Regions from separate parts of the Homo sapiens genome. Here region 1 is linked to region 2. Evidence: promoter capture Hi-C in human tissues and cell types (Jung and others, 2019). All regions are on one chromosome and are shown on one strand. The core of a region is centred on a gene start or on the middle of the fragment in contact, and the rest is flanking DNA. Distances in the headings are between cores, read along the strand shown.

Region 1 (7,382 bases), core at 3,821-6,320, 75 kb after region 2:
CTGTGGGCAGTCACTAGCCATGGAATTGAAATTGAGGTGGAAGTAAGTAAAAATATTTTACCCCAAAATATAGTGACATATTTTTGAGATGGCTGTTCAGAGAGCCAGCAAACAGCAGTAGCCCTGCAAATGTGTCTTTTGGTTGGGAGATTTGCATCTGTAGAGAATCTGCATTGATGCAGTCAGGCCTTCCCATGTCCAGATTTAGGAAAGATTGACTGAGAGTCTGATACCTTGAAAGCTCTGAAAGACACATTTACCATCTGTTTTATCTGAGGGCTGCTACCTGTGGGATTTCATTTACATAAGGAGACCACTTTTTGCTAGCCAGGCCTCCTCTTCTCCTTATCTTAAAACCTATTTTGCCATTGTAACCTGTCTTGCTATGATCTGAGCCCCCATTCTTTCTGTAACTTCAAGATGGTATACAAGCTTCTGCACCCCTTTGGGCATGGGGTAATCACTATATTATTCTCCCTTGTGTGCATGTTAATACATTTGTGTGCCTTTCCTCCAATTCATCTGCCTTTTGTGAGTTAATTTTTTAATGAACCTTTAGAGAGTGAAGGGGAAGTTTTCCCTTGGCCCCTACAAGGTCAATTCTTATCAGCTTTCTCAAGGGCAGCTAACATCCAGTTCTCTCTACAAACCAAACTTGCCATCTTCCCACCGTGAACCGTGAAAATCTGAAACAGGTCTGTTAATTAGTAAGTTTATTTTGCCAAGGTTGAGGACATGTGCCCATGACACAGCCTCAGGAGGTCCTGATGACGTGTGCCCAAAGTGGTCAGAGCACAGTTTGGGTTTATGCATTCTAGGGAGACATGAGACATCAGTCAACATATGCAAGATGAACATTGGTTCCGTCTGGAAAGGTGGGACAACTGGAAGCAGAGGTGGGAAGACTGGAAGCAGAGAGGGGCCTTTCAGGTCACAGGTAGATAAGAGATGGTTGCACTCTTTTGAGTTTCTGATTAGCCTGTCTAGAGGAGGTAATCAGATATGCATTTTTCTTAGTGAGCAGAGGGGTGACTTTGAATAGAATGTGAGGCAGGTTGGCCCTACGTAGTTCCCAGCTTGACTTTTCCCTCTAGCTTAGTGATTTGGGGGCCCAAAGATTTATTTTCCTTTCACACCACCAACACTTGTTCCCACTTCTTCCAGTCTCCCTACACTATTTCATTGTAGTGACATACCTTGCCAATGTCCAAACACTGGCAAATTTTTATTCAGCAGAAGTTATGCATAATATGCCCAAATCAGTTATTTCTAACCCTGACTTTTTGTTTTTTTAACCAATTTAAGTTGGCTTCTGGGGAGCCTGGACTCCATTTAACATTTAGAATTATTAAATACAGCCCAATAATGATCTTACTGCACCCCAGCTGTTTCAAAAAATCATTGTCATTTCATGCAGAATTATGGATACCCAGTGCACTGTTTGTTTAGGCCAAGCAGTCTCATTTTAATGGGGAGCCATTATGTTTGCCTTCAGGGAAGGTTTTCGTTTTATTTACACATGCTACTATGAGAAAAATGAGGTTGTGTGGGTTAAGGGTGATTAATGATAGCATTTCCAGGACTCAGGGATCCCCAGGGAAATAATCTGAGTTCTGCATAGGAGTCCAATGTCCCCTCAAGGTTGTCTGTTGACTAAACAACAACCCTGGCTTTCACCAGTCATTGGATTTTTTTATTGTTGTTTGCTTGCTTGCTTGCTCTGGTAGTAGATATTCTTGTCATTAGTGCTTCATTTTCCACCTGTGTTTTAATCAGGCTTTCCAGAGAATGGAAAGGACTGGACAGGAGATTCTGAGGCAGTGAGTTAACAACTACATGTTCCACTGTCACCACTAAGGCTAAAGGTGGCAGTGACATGGCACCAGTTTCCAGCTCTTCCCTGCCTTCTATTGTCCTTTTAATTATCCTCAAATAAATGTGTCATTGGGAGGCTGACGATCCTCTCACATCTTCTTGTTATTTAGAAAACTGAAAGGTGTTCTAATATCAATTGAAATTATCATTTGTTCTCTTACAAATACATTTTAAGAAATGATTTTGATCAATATAGACTGACTTGGTTATTCTGCCCCAATTCATATTGGGATTATATTTTCTAATTTGGATATTTACAGTAATCACAGTAGTGATGAGGTAGGTCAAGGCATTAAAAGAGAGGAAAGCAGTGCAATAGAGTGCATAAAATAGTGAGAGAAGGAGTACATAAGGGAGAGCCTAAGTGGGGAGCAATGGAAAGTCTGAGGCTGTGCCCACAAATAGCACGAGAAGGAGGCAGATGGCACAGGGATTCCGAGTTAGACTGGGAGGGAACCAGAGTTGTTGGTAAAGTAGGTAGTCAGATATCCAGGCAGACACATGGGGCTGGGTTGAGATCGGCTGGGGTCACACTGATGCAGGAGCTCAAAAGAAATTATTTAGGCAGAGGAGTGAGAGTAAGAGAGTCCTCGGCAGAGCTTCCCTTTAATAAAAAGCAGCCCCCAAATTATTTCTTTTCTAATGAAAAGCAGACTGATACATCAAGCTGCAGACAATAGATAAGCGAGCTGGAAGCTTGCACAGGTGAATGCTGGCAGCTGTGCCAATGTGAAAGGGCTACCTGGAAGCCAGGCATGTTCAACATGGAGGCTTCGTCTTCCTTTTTCTTTGTCAGCATGTGTGTAGTAAGGAACAGACAACATGGTGCCCACCAGGTAGAAAGCCCGTCTACATAATAAAAGATTAGGGTGGGGGTGGCCAGATTCTTGTGTGCTATGCAAATGGCACACCTGGTCCAACCCATCTTTCCTCCCCTATGTAAATCAGAAACCAGTTCCTCAAGCTCTCTGTAAAACCCCATGCATTTCACCACAGGACTAGCAACCCATTTTTCTCTGGGACCCCTCTTTTTGCAGCAGAGAGGGCTGCTTTTCTTTTGTCTATTAAGCTTCTGCTCTTAACTTCACTCTGGTGTGTCTGTGTCCTAGTTTTCATGGCCATGGGACAATGAACCGTGGCTATTACCCCAGACAATGACACTGCTTCAACACCACGAAGAGGAAACTAGGATGTAAATCCAGAGGGAGGGCTGGGCGCGGTGGCTCATGCCTATAATCCCAGCACTTTGAGAGGCCAAGGCAGGAGGATCACAACGTCAGGAGTTTGAGACCAGGCTGGCCAATATGGTAAATTGGCTGGTCAATTTAGTCTCTACTAAAAATACAAAAAAAATTAGCTGGGCGTGGTGGCATGTGCCTGTAGTCCCAGCTACTCAGGAGGCTGAGGCAGGAGAATTGCTTGAACCCGGGAGGTGGAGGTTGCAGTGAGCTGAGATCGTGCCAGTGCACTCCAGCCTGGGTGACAGAGTGAGACTCCTCTCAAAAAAAAAAAAAAAAAAAAAATCCAGTGGGAGGCCTCAGATAACATAGATCATACCTCGAGGAGGAAAGCAGGAGGGCATGAGTACCTTAGTTAATGGGGTCAAACTAAGCTCAGACCCAGGACCTTTATCCCAGCAGGGACAGAGGGAAGCTTGTGATTTTAAAGCTTCAAAGAGCAAGCAGCTAGTGGAGGCAGGCAGATCAGCAGTGTGAGAAGGTTGTGTCCATAGGCACAACAGCCTGGTTTACCCAGATGACAGGCAGAGTCTCTGACAAACAGGCAAAAGTCTGTCAGTGATGAATTGAGGTATTAGTTAAATATTGCCTTCTGCTAGGCAATACTGTCTCAATTTTGCCTCTTGGTATACTTGTCTGTCCAGACACTGTTACCAAACGGAACTGGGGTCTGCTCACTCACCAGGCACAGGAAAGCCAAACAAGCAGCACCAAGATTTTGCAGTGGGAGAAAGGAGGGCATTTATTTGCAGGGTGCCAAGCAAGGAGAATCAGGCAGCTAATGCTTAAGTCCCGACATCCCCGATGGCTGGCAAGCAATGGTTTTTATAGTCAGGAGTAAATTTCAGGAAAGCAGAAGTTACAGGCAAAATCATAAACCAATACATGGAGATTATACATTGGTTTGGCCTAAAAGGTAGGATATCTTGAAGTCAAGAGGGGGTATTCCAGGTCATAGGTGGATTCAAAGACTCTCTGATTTGTGATTGGTTAAGGAAATGAAGCTTTGTCTAAAATCTTGAGGTCAGCAGAAAAGAATATTAAGGTCTGTTCTACGGGTGTGACTTCCACCAGGCCCCTCAGGAAGAAATTTAGAACAAAGAAAGGCAGTCAGAGTTCAGTCTTCAGTTCCCTCTCACGTGAGGTCTGTGTGCCAGTGAATCAATTTGGTGGGGGTCCAGGTTTCTGAAAAACAACTCAGGGATGTTAGATTTTTATCTTTAGTTTCTTTTTCTTTTTTTTTTCTTTTTTTTTTTTTTTTTGAGACAAGGTCTCACTCTGTTGCTCAGGCTGGAGTGCAGTGGTGCAATGCAATCACGACTCACTGTAGCCTCGATCTCCTGGACTCAAGCAATTCTCCCACCTCAGCCACCTGAGTAGCTGGGACTACAGGTGCATGTCACCATGGCCACCTATCTTTAGTTTCTATAGGGAACCAAACATTTTGTGATTCTAGCTTCCTTGGCTATTGTTTTAAGCTATTATTACTTTCTTGCTTATCAGGTTGCTCATTTACTTCTCGGAGCTGGCTAGGTGCCTGGAATTTCCTTGAAGGAACTCAAGTTTTTCCTTTATTTCCTTGCTTGCCTCCTTGCCCTGGCAAGCCTCTAAGAGGGGTCCCTGCTCCATCTCAACACCATCTCAATACCTTCTCAAGAGCAGAGTTGTGTCTTATTCTTTGTGTCTTTACCCTCAAGCATAGTTCTTGGCATAGGGATGTATTTAGGACATTTAATGAAATTACTTCAATCAAGGACTGACTCCGAGGCAATGAACCAGGGGCTTCGAGAAGCAGAGGCCCCCAAATCTGGAGAAGACCTGTGACAAGACTAACTCAATGCTGGGCATGTGCATAATTGCTCTAGGACTTATGTCAACATTTGGGGTCAGGATTGGGCCTAAACTCTGGAATATGGCTATACTCACAGATGTGTAGTAAAGAAACCATAATAGTGGGAATCTGATTGATAGAATTTTTTTTTGTAATGACTATCTCAAAGGAGATAAAAAGCAGAAAATATGATTGTATCAGTTACCTTTTGTTGTCTAACAGTCCATTCCAAAACTTAGTGGCTTAAAATAATAAGCATTTGTTATAGATTTGTAGTCAAGACTGGTTCAACTGGGGCTTGATAGTGTCCAGTGGCCTCGCCCACACATATGGCATTCAGAGACTGGTTGATCCCAAGAGGAGGCCTCAGTTGAGGCAGCCTATCACTGCTGCATAAGGCCTCTCCTCTTTCAGCAGGCTAATTTAGACCTTTCACATGATGATTTCAAGGTTCCAAGTCTCTGCTTATATTTGCTATTGTCTCACTGGCCAAGTCAGGATAAGGGCCAAGCCTACATTCAGGTGGAAGAGAAATAGAGTCCAACCCTTGGTGGGAGAAACTACAGAAATCACACTGTAAAGAACTGTGCTTACAGGGATGGGAAGCATTTAGGGCCACCTTTTGCAACCTACCTCAATAATTTTGTAGGTACTGTTTATGTTTCAGTTGTACAGTTTTATAAGGAACAGAAGAAAAAGAAGATCAAAGACTAGGAGATATTATAGCAAAGAAAATATTCTGTAGGAGGCAAATTAATAATGTGAAAAATACATTTATTTCTTGTAGTAACGTAGGCATGATCTGGGGGGTCTTGGCTTTGCTAAGTAACATATTTGAGTTAATGTGCTGGCTATTTCTGTAATTTTTGACAAATTAGTTTGGTGTCTGCCATGCTTCTTCACTGTAGAATTACTCTTTTTCCCTTTCTATATTTTGTTCTTTGGAATTGAGTCATTAAGTCCTGCCTACCTTCTAAAAAAGGAGAACATGGATGGAGCTGGAGGCTATTATCCTTAGCAAACTAACGCAGGGACAGAAAACCAAATATGATTGTATTCTTGCTTATAAATGGGAGCTAAATGATAAGAATTTATGAACACAAAGAAGGAAGCAACAGACACTGGGGTCTACTTGACCCCAGGAGGGTCAGGGGAGGGAGAGGAGCAGAAAAGATAACAGTTGGGTACTAGGCTTAATACCTGGGTGGTGAAATAATCTCTACAACAAACCCTCGAGACATAAGTTTACCTGTGTAACAAACCTTCATTTGTACCCTTGAACCTAAAAGTTAAAAAGAGAAAAAGAAGAGAATTAAGCTTCACTGTCCATAGGGGCAGTATGTACATATATTATATGGAATTCTTCTGCAAAGAAGAGTTGTTCTCTTTTCTGATTTCTTTTTAATGTCTCTGGGATCTTAGGAATGGCCTCCTTTTCATTCTTGAGATTATTTATACTCTCTTTCTTTTTTTTGTTTAGTCCTGTTTGGGTTTATACATTTTATATACCTTTGAAAAGAAACAACATTAGTTTTAATGAAACTCCGTTTCTATTTTTCTCTGTTGTATGTTTGTTTTCTATTTATTTTCTTTATTGTTTTATTGATCCTACATTCTCTGTTTTACATTTGCTGTTTATTTTCTAGCTTTTGGAGTTGAATTATTAGTGCATTGATTTTTCAGTCTTTCTTCTTTAATAATATTTTTATTTAAAACTACAAGTTTTCCAGAAAGCATGGGTTAAGCTGCAGTCCACAAGTTTTGGTATGTCTTACTTACACTAGTATTTAGTTAAAAATACCTTGTAATTTTCATTGTGATTTTTTTCTATGACCCATATCTAAGATTGTTGGTTTCCAAATATTTGAAGATGTTCTGGCTACCTTTTTGTTATTGAATTCTAGCTTATTCCACTATGCTTGGAAAAAATAATCTATGAGATTTCAATACTGAATATTTTGAGGCTTGGTTTAGGCCCCATTTATGGCTAACTTCAGCAAATGTTCTGTGTATATTTTAAAAGAAGGTGTATTTGACAGCTGTTCGGTGTTCTTTTCTTTTATGAGCCCAAAAGTATCTGAGACAGGTCTCAATCAATTTGGAAAGTTTATTTTGCCAAGATTAAGGACGTGCCCCTGACAGCCTCAAGAGGTCCTGACAACATATGCCGAAGGTGGCTGGGGTACAGCTTGGTTGTATATTTGGGTTACATTTTAGGGAGACATGAGACATCAATCAATATGTGTAAGATATACATTGGTTCAGTCCACAAAGGCAGAACAACTTGAAGTGGGGGTCTTCTAGGCGGTAAGTAGATAAGAGACAGAAGGCTGCATTTTTTGGGGTCTTTGGCCAGCCTTTCACTAAATACACAATTTACATGTGGGAGGGGTAGAGAAATAATCACTTATGCCCTAGTGTGGCTCAGTGAATCAGAG
Region 2 (7,340 bases), core at 735-3,234:
TCCTGGCTATGTATTGGGAAGGAAGGCAGGTGAGAAGAGTGAATTTATAGTTTGAGTCTGTTCTGACTTTGAGGACGGGCTCTCAGTCAGGCGAGACTTTCTAAAGTTGAGTAGGCATCATACTTCCTGCTGTTTCCTTAGGGAAATGCTCAGATACCCCTCCAGCTTGTGGGATGGAAGACCTGGGTCCTAGTCTCAGTGCACATCTAGCTCTGTGGAGGTATTTTTCCAAGTTCCCTTGCTAGCTTCAGTTTTATTTCCTATCATTCTCCCCATGGGTGAAAAGCTCCTGGTTCTGGGAGAGTTCTTTGAATCCCAGCTCAGTCATTCACCAGTGATAGGCCCTTGGGAAAACTTCCTGGCAAGAGATAGGTTGTATTTTTTTTTTTTTTTTTTTTGAGACAGGGTTTCGCTCTTGTTGCCCAGGCTGTAGTGCAAGGGCACGATCTCAGCTCACCACAACCTCAGCCTCCCAGGTTCAAGCGATTCTCCTGCCTCAGCCTCCCGAGTAGCTGGGATTACAGGCATGTACCACCACACCCGGCTGATTGTGTGTTTTTAGTAGAGATGGGGTTTCTCCATGTTGGTCAGGCTGGACTCCAACTCCCGACCTGATCCACCTGCCTCAGCCTCCCAAAGTGCTGTGATTACAGGTGTGAGCCACTGTGCCTGGCCAGCAGTAGTATTTGCAGCACTATGTTAGGGTTAGGGAAGGTAACACCTGAAGTGCTTACCCACAGTGCCTTGGCATTGAGGAGTCTCAATTGGTAGTTATCCTAAGGATTGCCCATGGAGGTGAGAGTTGGGACATGATCCTTCCTTCATTAGTGTCAGGTGTCACTGCACAGAGCAGGTCAGAGAGGACCAAGAGTACTTTCACACCCCACCCCCACCACCCCCACAAGACCCTGAGAGCTTCCAGCCTTTACCTAGAAGATCCATAGGACACTTGAGCAGCTTCCTCTCTGTAACCACCTTGTGTTCAGCCGCGCCTGCTCCTTCAACTCCAACTGGCATGATGTAGTGGGAGTCCTGGAGAGACAGGCCCTTGGGGGTCAGCCTGGATGGTAGCATGAGGCGCTTCACACAGTCTCCCTGGCCATTGGGTCATACTCACCCACTCAGTGACATAGCAGCTGCTATAGGTTGCCTCCAACACCACGGAGCTGCCTGGACCTTTTCTTATCCAGGTGCCACAGTCGGAGTCATTCTGCAGCTCGTGCAGCAGCCCTTGGTTGTCTGGAGGGGTGGGGAAGAGGTGAGAAAACACAGCGGTCAGTCTCCAGTGCCAGAAAGGATAGTCAGCCTTGCCATTAGACCCCAAGGAGCAACTGTCAATAAGAGGAACAAGAGGGAAATCAGATTCAGATCAGATGTAGTTATAACTTAGACTATTTCTTTTGCAGAAAGATGCAACAGGGCTCAGAAGGTGAAAGTATCAATACGGGAAGATAGGGAGACATCTTAGGTAGTAGAGGAGACATATCATTGCTTGGCTAAGCAAGGCAAGTCATCAAACTTACCCCAAGCTATTAGTACAGGAGGAGACGTTGCCTCCTGGTTGAGGTTTACAGCAAACTGGAAGCTCCACGGCCCACAGTGGAGCACACTGGAATAATCTGGTGCCTCAGGCTTATGCTGGCCACTCACAGCAAGAGATAATGAAACACACAGCAAAACGCACCGCAGCAGCCACATAATGCTACCAGGAGTTCCTGCCGGCTGCAGACTCTCCGCCTCCTCTCCCAAGAGCCGAGGGTCTGCCTGCCCAGATTCCTTTATATACAGAAGTCAGGCTTGTTTTCAGCTGCACATCTTTGTGACACTCAGGTGGGATGCCTTCAGAAAGGGGAATTCCTCTAGCCTCATTTGCTTTGGGGCACAGTCTGCAGCTGCCTCACATTAAATACCACAATCCAGGCAGACTTCAGAGCCCAAGAAAAATGTAGTAACTTTTAGCTAACAGAAAGGAAGGAAAGAAAGCTTCCTCAGGGTTGCTCAACATAGCATTTGTCCCACCAGTTTATTGAACTTATTGACTTCAGAAGACCTCCCTCTAGAATTTTGCACATTTGGGTGTGAAACTACCATCTATGAACTATGGGGTCTGGGTACGTTACAAACTCTCTGAATCTTGGTTTTCTCATCTGTAAAATGGGAATGCTATCTCCTGGCAGTGGTGTGCTTGAGGATTAAGCAAGAGATTCTATGTCAGGTGCCTGGCACAGTGCTTGGCCAAGCAGTGAGTGCTCAGTCAACATTGTCGGGTGAGAGTTGGGGCCCTTGAGAAGCCTTGTCACCTTCTCCATCCATTCTAGAAAAGTTTCTGTACGATTAGAGCCTGTCTTGAAATTCTAGAAAAAAATCTAAACTTATTTCCTGAGAAAGGTTGATTTTGAACCCTTTCCTGGTCCTTAGAGGGAATCCTACCACAGCAATCTTTCAACAAATTCCAAAGTGGTTCATTGCCATAACTGTCCTACAGTGTTTCCCCACAGGATCTGGGGGAAATGTGGATTAGGCCATGAATTCCTCAAACTGGTTCTGCCTCTTACAGCTATTTGACAATTTTATCTTTCGGCTGTGTTTCAGGCATATTTCATAAAGATGTCAGGGTTTCTTGCTTGCTTTCTACATTTTTGTTTTCCACATAAACTACAAGTTATATACTTTGGTCACTCTTTAAGCTAGAGTGTCAGACCAGATTGTAGAGAAATTCTAAGAGATTTGGGGATAAATGGATACATTCCCCACTGGAGAGGCAAGAGCATGGAAACTTGTCTTCTGCAGTCTGCCACCAATATTCCCAAATTGTACCCTGATTGTATTTAGACTGATATTTTTCGGTTGACTAAAAATTGTAGTCAAAGCACTGAGAATGTGTAACTAGGTATCTCTAGTTCTCTTCAACTCATCACAGAGGACAAATAAGTATGTGTCTTCCTGGGAAAATTGGTGGCCCTTTTAACCACATGATGAAAAATGACATTGAAGGAAAGCTGGACTCTGCCCTCAAAGACAGATGTGGCTTCCCTGACACCGTCTACCTGGATTAGGTGCTCACCACTGGGTTATTACATGCCATTTACTCACAGGATTTGCCAGGTTGGATTGTAATGACCTCTTTCTTATTCAGTTTGCCACTAGAAGCACGTGAGGCCAGGGACTTTTTTATTTGTCACTGCATCCTGCGTGCCTTGGATGTATGTACTCAGTGTTCTCTGAGTAAAGACTGAATCAATGAATATGCTTTCATTAGTGGCCATGTCCTAGGGCTAACCCCCTTGAAAATGTAGTTTCCAAACCTCACCGGTACAAATTCATTTCCTTTATGATGAGCTCAAACTCATAACCCTTAGGTATTTTTCCTTCAAGTAAATATCATGTGATTGCACATGTAAGAAAGAATCTGAGGATTTGACTCATGCAAGATGTCTCAGGAGTTAAAAGGCCAGTCTCCTGACTAGACTTACTAATATTGCTTTATGCTGAGACCAGCTCAGTCGGGGAGACCCTAACCCAGGGATGCTAGAGGAATAAAGACACACACACACACACAAATATAGAGGTGTAGAGTGGGAAATCAGGGGTCTCACAGCCTTCAGAGCTGAGAGCCTCGAACAGAGATTTACCCACATATTTACTGACAGCAAGCCAGTGATAAGCATTGTTTCTATAGATTATAGATTAACTAAAAGTCTTCCTTATGGGAAACAAAGGGATGGGCTGAAATAAAGGGATGAGCTCTGGCTAGTTATCTGCAGCAGGAGCATGTCCTTAAGGCACAGATCACTCATGCTATTTGTGGTTTAAGAACACTTTTAAGCGGTTTTCCATCCTGGGTGGGTCTGGGGTTCCTTGCCCTTATTCCGGTAGACCCATAACCTTGCAGCGTGGGCATCATGGCCATCACGACCATCACGAACATGTCACAGTGCTGCAGAGATTTTGTTTATGGCCAGTTTTGGGGCCAGCTTATGGCCAGATTTTGGGGGGCCTGTTCCCAACAGCTTTATAAAGTGGTGAAAAGTCAAGGAGCGTAACTTCCTTTGCTCATACTTGGAGGCAATATAGTATAGTATATCATGTGAGTTTTGACAATGGGTGGACTTGGGTACAAATTCTGACTGTTACTCTGCAACCTCTGTCAATGTATTAACCTCTTTCTCTCAGTTACAGTTTTTATATCTGTAAAATAGGGATAATAACATGGACAGTATTATTACAACAGACGGTTAGATGAAATAATGTATGTACAATGCTTGTTGCATAATTGCTACATTGTCACTAACATCAACAGGACCAGCCTGGGAGATAAAGGTGAGATGGGTGGCAAATGGAAAGCAAATGCCAAGCAGTGCACTCATTGGATCTGCAGGGAGTCTGAGGAACAGCCTATACTCATGAGGCTGCATTCCCAAATGAGGTCCTGTGTTTACATAATGAAGTTGAAAAATCACACAAGCCTGGAACTATGTGGAGCTATCTTGAAGTCCACCTAGGATCACACCCATCTCTCTGATGCTGCAGAGGGTCAAAGATGGATGCCAAGATAATGCAGGCAGGTCTGGGGTTAGGTAATGTTATGCTCATTCCTCTGCTGAATCTTCCAAGAACATCATCATTTAATTTCGGGATGAGAAAATGCACTGATAATGTGTGATCCACCTCGAGGAGCCCCAGGCTTAACAGAAAAAACATCCTATCCACTATTATCACAACATGAATGCTCTGTCCTTTGAATGTGAAAGGGCAAATGCTGTTCTTTGTCTTATGTCAGAATCACCCAGTCATTTAAAAATTGTTTCAGAGCCATTACGAACAGATTATGAGGCATCCTAATGTGTACAGACTTATCAAAAGCCCCATAGTCATGGTAGTATTCATGCAACCCACATTTTATAGGCGGGCTTAAGGATTCCCCTTGTGTTCCTTACCAAAGTACTTGGGAGTCCTGCACTGAAGCTAAGCTGCCCATTCCTCATTCACTGAAGCTGCCCATTCCTCATTCAGTGATCTGGCCACTCAGGTCATGAGGGCAACCTGTGTGATTGGGGAAAGGCAAACGGTGATTTCCAAAAACCTTCTTCAATCTGGTCATATTTACATTTGAGTGTTTCATTTTAAACTGCAGAATAGGGACATCACCCCACAAGGTTTGGATAGCATGGAGCTGTAGTACAATGCTTTCTGGCCATTGAGTACAGACTCCTCATCTGACATTAACAGTGATTGCCCCGCTGTGACTGGAGCAGGGTCCTCCTAACTGGAGAGTGAAGTACCACTCAAACAAGGCCCCAGGAAGCCCACTTCAAGTGTGGAGAAGCAATAATCAAAATTATCCCTCAAATATGGAGGGATGATTAGACCATTGTTGTGTTAATCAGTAATTAGGGAGCAAGGATGGTGCATCCAGCTGCTCTCTGCATGTGGTGGAAATTAGGACACTTCTCTTCTGAAGGAAGATGTCAAACTTAATTTACTGTAAGTACTTACATGGTTTTCCTTTTCAACAAGCAAGAATGAAGTGTAATTCAGAGTCAGTTGCGATGGCTTCCATTACTGGGTCTCTTGTTTCAACGCCTCTTTTGTGTCCAAGGTACAAGACCTGTCTCTGAAGTGTCTCCTGTGCTGACTGCACAGCACCTGCTCTGTTCTGATGTCTCTCCCCTCCCTGCTCCACACCTTCCTTTGCCATGATGGGTGGAAAATTATCATTCCCTTTCACAGGCAGGAGGATACCCTACTGAATGGGTAGTCGGACTTTGAGAGGGATGTCAGTATGGTTGACCCTTGAACAATGTGGGGGCTAGGGGTGCCAACCCCGCATGCAGCCAAAAATCCATGTAGAGTTTTTTGGTCCCCCTCAAATGTAACTAATGTAATTGCCTGATGGGTTTGTCTTACTTGCTGCACAGGCAAGATCAATTCACTGAGACCCTGACATTCTGATGAGGAAAGAATATCATTGATGTGAGGCCAGCCACATGGGAGACAGTTATGACTCAAATCAGTCTCTGAAGGCTTGGAGGTTAGGGGGTCTTCAAGCATAGTTTGGTGGGCAGGGGACTAAGGAACAGCTGCTGTTGATTCATTGGAATGCACTCTTAAGGGTATGGAAAATGGTCCTTGTGCACTGTGTTCACTTCTGGATCACGGGGCCACGGGACCAGTTGGGTCATGAGTCACAGGTCTGCCTTTGGGTGGGGGTCAGTCAGTTGCCAGAATGCAAAAGCCTGAAAAATACCCCAACATATCAATCTTAGGTTCTACAATAGTGATGTTATCTATGGGAGTAATTGGGAAAAGTTACACGTCTCCTGACCCACAAAACAATGCCTGGTTATCTGTAAGTACACCTAGATCTTAGCAGAATTCCAGCACCTCTCATCCTAACCTTGTAGACTTTCATTAGTCTTACAAAGGTGGTTTAGTTTTGGGAAAGGCTATTATGAACCCTGCTTTAAGGTTACATTATAAACTAAATCTCTCCCAAAGTTAGCTTGGCTTACTCTCAGGAATGACCAACAACAGCTTGGAGGTTAGATGCAAGATAGAGTTAATTATGTCAGACTTCTCTTACTTCATAATTTTGCAAAAGTAGTTTCACTAATAGCCTATTGTTGATCAGAAGCCTTACCAATAACATAAACAGTTGATGAACACATATTCTGTATATGTATTATATTATATACTGTACTCTTATAATAGAGTAAGCTAGATAAAAAAATGTTATTAAGAAATCATAAGGAAGAGAAAATGTTTCCTATTCATTAAGTGGAAGTGGATCACCATAAAGGTTTTCATCTTTGTCATCTTCACATTGAGTAGGAAGAGGAGGGGTTGGTCTTGCTGTCTCAGGGGTGGCAGAGGTGGAAGACAACCTATGTATAAGTGGACTCATGTGGTTGAAACCCATATTGTTCAAGGGTCAACCATATGTTGATATTCCTATTTCTGAAAGTGAAAGAAGAGATTAAGAAAGAGGTAGGAGACTAAGTTGCTAAAGAAAGAAAAAGAGTTAAAATTTAAAACTTTTGCACTGGAAGTCCTGACTTCAACACAATGATATATATCAATGTAGCAAAATTGCACTTATACCCCATGAATATATGCAAATAAAAAATAAAAATTAGAAAATATAAAATTAAGGACTTTTGGGTGGGGAATTACAGATAAGGTTAGTGAAAATTTTCTGGCCCAGACAGACTGCCTCTGTTGAAGTTCATGCCCTTCCTCCACCTTTAATTATGCCATCTGCTTAAGTTTGGATCATGTTCTCCCCTCTCTAGACCATGCAGTTGACATGTTGTCTTTACAGGTGACAGTAAGTTTTGAGC

What was found. Contacts are between HindIII fragments. The study calls those that stand out against the background at their distance.
Region 1: a contact is called between a fragment that was not itself captured here and the fragment with the promoter of ZP4 in region 2, in 2 of the 25 tissues and cell types used here (adrenal gland and pancreas).

What each region holds. Positions count from the first base shown.
Region 1 is chr1:237,960,413-237,967,794 of GRCh38, forward strand. No RefSeq gene overlaps it. Among named protein-coding and RNA genes, the nearest start is that of ZP4, 73 kb to the left of the region's middle. The HindIII fragment of the contact is 4,627 bases long and covers 2,758-7,382 here.
Region 2 is chr1:237,888,938-237,896,277 of GRCh38, forward strand. It overlaps ZP4 (zona pellucida glycoprotein 4), which reads right to left and starts at 1,985. Exons shown (of 12, transcript NM_021186.5): 1 at 1,524-1,985; 2 at 1,118-1,239; 3 at 930-1,032. The coding sequence starts at 1,698. It also overlaps the pseudogene LOC100130331. The HindIII fragment of the contact is 12,268 bases long and covers 1-7,340 here.